Regions from separate parts of the Homo sapiens genome. Here region 2 is linked to region 1. Evidence: promoter capture Hi-C in 16 types of primary human blood cells and fetal thymus (Javierre and others, 2016). All regions are on one chromosome and are shown on one strand. The core of a region is centred on a gene start or on the middle of the fragment in contact, and the rest is flanking DNA. Distances in the headings are between cores, read along the strand shown. Region 1 holds the start of CCR9 (C-C motif chemokine receptor 9). Region 2 has its middle 9.6 kb from the start of RTP3.

Evidence for each region. The method cuts DNA at HindIII sites, captures the fragments that hold promoters and counts their contacts. A CHiCAGO score of 5 or more calls a contact.
Region 2: a fragment that was not itself captured here is called in contact with the fragment with the promoter of CCR9 in region 1 in 1 of 17 cell types (neutrophils); the score reaches 5.7 in neutrophils.

Annotation. Positions count from the first base shown.
Region 1 is chr3:45,884,976-45,888,460 of GRCh38, reverse strand. CCR9 (C-C motif chemokine receptor 9) reads right to left here and starts at 1,918. Exons shown (of 3, transcript NM_031200.3): 1 at 1,806-1,918. It also overlaps a transcript of LZTFL1 not described here. RefSeq lists a promoter at 1,903-2,902. The HindIII fragment of the contact is 2,128 bases long and covers 1,577-3,485 here.
Region 2 is chr3:46,505,857-46,509,341 of GRCh38, reverse strand. No RefSeq gene overlaps it. Among named protein-coding and RNA genes, the nearest start is that of RTP3, 9.6 kb to the right of the region's middle. The HindIII fragment of the contact is 7,986 bases long and covers 1-3,485 here.

The DNA of each region.
Region 1 (3,485 bases), core at 669-3,168:
AGCTTGCATTCAAATACACTGAGTAAGTCATGGCTGCAAATAACAACAAAGGGAAAGTGCTATGAGTTGTGGTAGGAATTGGAAGAAGGAGGTCATGTCTTTAGCTCTGGGGAGAATCCAGGAGGGCTTCATTGAAGAGGTGACATTTTTGCGGGTCCTTGAAGGCCGAAGAGCATGGAGACATGCAACGAGGGGAGGGAACATTGCTCCAGGGTGGGAAAACATATGCACTAAGGCATGAAAGTCAGAAAGCATGGGGTATGTGCAGGGACCTGGGAGATAAAGGAAGGGAGAGAGCTGCTAATTCTCCAAAAGAGAAAAGTGCCTATTAGAAAAGTTAGCTTGGAACCTATTATTATCCAATCACTATTTTTGTATTCTCTAACATTCTTACGTAGCCAACATGAAAATCAGCATGGGGTTATTGTGCACACAGCATCTCCCCACACTTATAGCCTCTGATGCTTACAGCACTAACATCAAATCAGATACTAACATGAGTCAGGAATGCAGGTCCTTACTTTGAACTTTGTACAATTTGCTACACGGAGCTTGAATCATCTCTTACATTTTTTCATAGCTCTGCTTTTTGTTCCCTACACGAGGCAGGGTCTCTGAGCCATCTATCAGATCCATCCACTCACCATGCCTGGATCAGATGCCTGCCAACCGCCCAGCAGGGGCTGCACAGGGCCCAGGGGCTCCCAACACAAGCCTGTGAGTGAGGCCTACACAAAGAGGCTTCAGAACAGATAAGCAGATATTGGAAGAAAAGGACTCCGAAATTCCAGATGCTGAAATAGTAAATTAGCTTTTGCTCGTTCAGGAAAGGGAGTAAGGAGATGGGATCCCACAGACTGGCTGCTGCACAGCCCTTCCGGTTCAGCACACAGTGACCACTCTCTGGATGGACTTGCCAGCCGTCTATGGAGTAACAGCTAATTCAGAACTAAAGAGGGTAGGTGTGTTTGAAAAGGCAAACCAGCATCCACTGATGAGTCATTTAAAATAACTTTTTGCTTTACTCTGATCATAAAGGAGTATTTTTACAATGCACAAAAAATCCCCAAAATGCCAACATACATAATATAGAAAATAAAAACTCCTGAAGCACCCTTTCCTAGTTTAGCCATTGTTAAGTTTCTGAGATACTTCCTTTCTGACTTTTTCTCTGTAACACAACCTCACACACACACACACACACACACAGACACACACGCACTTAATAGAAAGGAAATCAGACTACACATATAATCTTCTATCTTGCTTTCTAATTGCCCATCTTTCATGGATCACCTTCCATGCCAATTCAACATAGAACCGTATCATAGAATTGGATGGCTGCTGTGTATTCCATTGTCTAGATACATCACAATTCATTTAACCATTCGCCTCCTGATGCATAGTTTCCTTGTTTCCAGTTTTTCACTGCTACAAAGAATCCTTTCCATGGGGCAGTGTCTCAGACTCAAGGACCTCATGGGTGTGTCCTTTACCCCTGGCCACCATCTTGTCCCCCAGCACCTGCTTCTCCTTCCTTTAAGGTATAAATCACAGACTGCCTTAAGCCTAAGCTTCATGTATGTGAAGGGGGAGGGAGTTTTATTACTCGCCCTACAAGAAACCTGGGTTGGGCATCACCAATTCCCATTTACCTTCCTGGAAGTTTCTAGAAAAGTGCCTGGTGCCCATGACCTCTGAACAAATGAGTGCAAGCCCAGGTTTTAGAAGCCATCATAGCAGCACACAACTGAGGGCCAAGATGACACTGGGTTGGGGGCAACAAGAAGAAGAGCAATACTCACTGTGGAGGGCGATGCAACTCTCCCTGGGACAGCAGGCACCACCAGCTCTCAGTGTCTGGGGAAAGAGCTGGGTTGCTCTCTGCCTGGGATGAGGGGCAGGCTTTGTGGGTTCTGAGCAGGCAGCTACCCGATAACAACACGAGAAAGGAAGCCAGGCCACCCCTGCCTGTGTTGTCACTGGTGGGGTAGCCCAAGAGGGTGGGGAGTCACCTGTGTAGCTTCCAGCAATCAGCGGAGTCAATCATTTGCAACCAGAAACAAAAAGCTGAAAACTGCTGGGATAAGGGGAAACTGTCTCATCTGAAGACGCACATACAGACTGATGATCTAAGAGCAAATTCTCTTCCTAGACAGCACAGCTGCTTACAGGGAATGGGGAAATTGGAGGATCCCATCGAGAGAAGTCAGCCTTGTCAGGCTTGCCAGAGGTGCACACTGATGAGATTTCTTTAGGTGGTGTCACCTGAGCAGGCCTGTATCAGATTACCACCCAGTGGCAGATGTAGCACTATCCATCGCAACATACCTTTTCTGGCCTTGACAGACGTACCAGAACCCGGAGGGCTGTGCTATCCAACACAGTAGCTACTAGGCAGATGTGCCTATTTAAATTCAAATTAATTAAAATGCTAACTAGGGCCAGTGCAGTGGCTCACCTCTGTAGTCCCAGCACTCTGAGAGACTGAGGCGGGCAGATCACTAGGCAGAGCCTAGGAGTTCAAGAACAGCCTGGACAACATGGTGAAACCTCATCTCTACAAAACACACAAAAACAATTAGGCAGGCATGGTGGCCCATGCCTGTAGTCCCAGATACTCAGGGAAGCTGAGGTGGAAGGATCAGGAGGCAGAGGTTGTAGTGAGCCAAGATTGCACCACTGCACTCCACCCTGGGCAACAGACTGAGACCCTGTATCAAAAAAGAAAAATGTTTTAAGTGTTAACTAGTTTCTCAGTCATGCCAGGTACATTTCAAGTGCTCAATAGCCACATGCAGCTAGTGGCTATCCCAATGGACAATGCAGATACAGAACCTGTCCATCGTCGCCAACAGTGCTATTGAAAGGCACTGCTTTAGAAAGTCTGCCTGTGAGATGTAGCTAGGAACACATGGAGTGCTGGAAAGCCACAGACACCTTCAAATTGGGGCAAATCTAGTAAGGTTTTGCACATCAGATACATTAACAAAGATAATACAATAAATTGTATTAATTACAGGTGTTTTGGTAAAACTTTGAAAAAAGCTAAATATACAAAATATTGCATTTTTAATGAAGATCACAGACGAAGTCTTCCCATCCACTGCTACAGTGGGGACTTCAATCCTGATGTGATTAATGATTTCCTGTCATTGTTATGACAAAGATCCCTTTTATATATTTGTTCTGGGGGAAAATCATGACTACACTCTTGTGGATGTTAATTTCCACCTCTTGGTGTATTGATTGTCCCGAGGACTCAATGCCGCTCTGTCATGGCGTGGTACTCCCAGGCGCATGTCCCCTTCATCACCCTCAGTTCCCGTAGAGCAAAGGGATGCAGAAGGTGCACTTGGGTTTATTGTCTAAATGGAAAAAGGCCAACAAATAGGTCATCTGAAAGGTAGAGGGCATGCACAGTAAGAACGAAAGAGGTGTCTGATTCATCAGCCTTAAGGAACGGCGGTGCGAGGGAGCCGTGA
Region 2 (3,485 bases), core at 332-2,831, 620 kb before region 1:
AAAGACTTATCTTTATGGCCCAGGACATATGGCCATATGTCCTGGGCCATAAAAAAAGGCAGACCTATAGCTCATTTGCTTTATCTCTTTGTTTTCCCCTGGTCCCACCAGCCTGACTCCTTTTCCCTAATTAGGACTTCACATTCCCCTTATAAACCTATATACAGATGGCCCCTGACTTAGAATGGTTCAATTTATGATTATTTTTCACTTTACAATGATGCAAAAGTGATATATATTTAGTTGAAACCATACTTTAAAATGGGAATTTTGATCTTTTCCCAGCTTAGCCACAGGCAGTAAGATACTCTTCCCTATTGCTATTCTGACCATGTTAAAGTGGGCCAGGGTAGGCTAAGCTAAGCTACGATATTTGGTGGGCAGGGTGTATTAAATGCATTTTTGACTTACGATATTTCTACTTATGGTGGGTCTATCAGGACATAACCCCATCATAAGTTGAGGAGCATCTGTATATCCCAGTGGTTCTGTTTCTGCGGAGAACTCTGATTACACAGAAGGCTACTCTCAACCACATATGACATGAATTTAGGAAGTGATGTCTCAGCCCGTAAGAAGGGGAAAATCTTGTAACTGAAGGAGATAGGAGTGACTTAGGGATAAAAGACTAATCTTTAGGAGAAAACTCCTTGGGGGAATTCCTTGAAGAATAGTGACCAAATTATTTTTAAGAAAAGATCATTTCCGGCCGGGCGCGGTGGCTCACGCCTGTAATCCCAGCACTTTGGGAGGCCGAGGCGGGTGGATCATGAGGTCAGGAGATCGAGACCATCCTGGCTAACAAGGTGAAACCCCGTCTCTACTAAAAATACAAAAAATTAGCCGGGCGCGGTGGCGGGCGCTTGTAGTCCCAGCTACTCGGGAGGCTGAGGCAGGAGAATGGCGTGAACCCGGGAAGCGGAGCTTGCAGTGAGCCGAGATTGCGCCACTGCAGTCCGCAGTCCGGCCTGGGCGACAGAGCGAGACTCCGTCTCAAAAAAAAAAAAAAAAAAAAAAAAAAAAAAAGAAAAGATCATTTCCTACGTTAAACTTGAACTGTTTCTAGCCCTGTGTTACTATTAGCATATTTTGTTACTTCCATGAGTTCAAGAAAATAAGAAAACCCAACCCACTAACCAGTGTTTGGAGTCACCCAAGCAGGTCTGGTCTTCCCTAGTCACCATGTTCTCTCTGTGTTTATCAGCAAATATTAGTTGCCTTCCTCAGAACCTCACTACCAAGAATTCTGCAGGGGAGTAAACTGTCATTGGCAAGCAGGTCCCCTATCATGCCACCTGGTCTGTGAGCCTTTGGGTTTTCAGGTGGCCCAGACATGCTCCTGTATATGCCCCTTCCAGGCAGACAGGAATGTGCTCTGATGGCGGGAACACTGTGTCAGACTATGGTGTCCTCTGTTTAGTGGGGAACACAGGGCCAGGATTTTAAACCAGGGCATGGTTCTCAAAGTATGGGACCACTGGGCACTTCTGATTCTCCTACCACATTCATGGGAAAGGGGGAAGATACCAGCACAGCCCCATGTGGTGAACATCACTTATTTCACCAATACAAGTAGTTTCTGATATGTCTTATGCAAATTAACAATGACCCCTTTGCAGAAATATTTGAAACTTAGCACAGCTTTCTTGAGTGAGGATCCCAATTAGTTGCTAATGAATGCTAATTGACCACCTCTGGGATGGGGGCAACAGCCCACAGGGTATAGATGGCACAGAAACACACACACACACCCCAGTATCTATACTGAAGTGTTTAGAAGCAAATCACAATGAATGATTGGGTGTTCTGTGAAAAGGCTGTGCATGGAAAATGACCCCCAAATGACACAGGATCCAAGAAACCAAAGAAAGAGGCAGACAAATCCAGTTTGTCGGTATTGGGTGATTTTTTAGGGGGAATTTACAGATAGAAGTGTGGTCTTTTGCGGTTGCAAGACAGGCAGATCTCCGCATTGCGACCCTCCAGACCCAGGGCTTATATCTTGGGTAAAAGGTGCATGTGCTGTAGAAGGAATGTGCAGGATGCTACAGGCATCTCAGGAAACTGAGATTGGAGGAAACTTAAAATGAATATGTGTTCCTACATAAACATCCAGGAGTTCAAGACCACCCTGGGTGACAGAATGAAACCTTGTCTCTACCAAAATAATAATAATAATAATAATAATAATAATAATAATAATGTGGCTACTGAAAACATTTAAGTTACCTATGTGGCTGACATGCTCTAACTCTACTAGATAGCACTGCCAAAATGAAGGTGATGTTTATAGAAGAGGAAGGAAATTCTCTAAGTTGGCTGGCTTTGCGTTCACCTCTACTTCCATATTAGAAGACAGTAGCCTTGACTGTATGTGAGAAATTTGACAATTCTATTGAGATTTTGGAATAACAACTGCAAAATTCTTTCTGATCCTGGCCACTGCAGAGTAGCTAGGTTTGGACCCTTCCTATCACCAAAAATAGCTATAAAAGCTAGGCAAAAACAAGAAAACAAAGGATGAGATGCACTGGAGAGCAACAAGCATGGATTGGCTGTGAGGAGCTGGTCCTCTGGAGGAGGGACGCACATAAGGCAAGCCCCATGTGCCCCGGGTTTACTCGAAGACAGTTTCTGAATTGCAGCCCAGGAGATAAAGCAAAGCAAAAAGTGATTATTTCAGTTGACTGAGGAGACAGAAGTCAGAATTTGAGGCTGCCTAGGCACCTGAAATTTAAAGGCAAAATCCCAGAAAGAAGGGAATTGAAGAGAAGAGGCTCAAAATGCTGCATTCCATTTTTCTTTCATTGGCTGATTACCAAGATGTGCTGTTCTAAGGGAAAACAAAGCCAGGCTCTGGGAGGCTAAAGGCTTGCATGGGAATTTCGGCAGCCATGCAGCCCTGGGAAGTCAGAAATGGCAGTGAATGCCTAGTAGGGAGTGTGTATGGGGGTGGGAGTGGTGTTGGTAAACACCCGTGGCTTCCAGGCGAGACCACAGAAAACCTCAGCCTGGGATTGACGGTCTCCCCAGCACGGGCTACACAGCCTATGAGTAAGCGCAAAGGTGAAGTATGCCCCAGCTTCAGGTAGGTCCCAACGATGTCTAAAACCAAGCCAAATTGTCCAGCCTGCCGCTCTCACCCCTCTCCAAGCACAGGGACCCTCCTCCAGTTCGCCCTGGCCCTTGCCCGGCTTGCTCTGCAGTGCTGCCTGTCCCGGAGCCAGCACTCTATATGCTAATTACCACAGTGGTGATGTCTTCTAAGGCAAGGCCCACCTGTGGTCATTTTTTCCTGACTTGTTTATCAAGTTTCGGTCACTCATTCTTCCACATGAATTAAACACACATCTTTTTCAGTTTCAGAAACAGTGTGTCCTTTGCCAAAGAGTGAGCTAGGATCACCCATGAATACACATGAGGAGAGAAACGGCAAATGGGTAAAGTGGAAAACACCATTTTCATTTCTAAGCTGTTCATGGCCA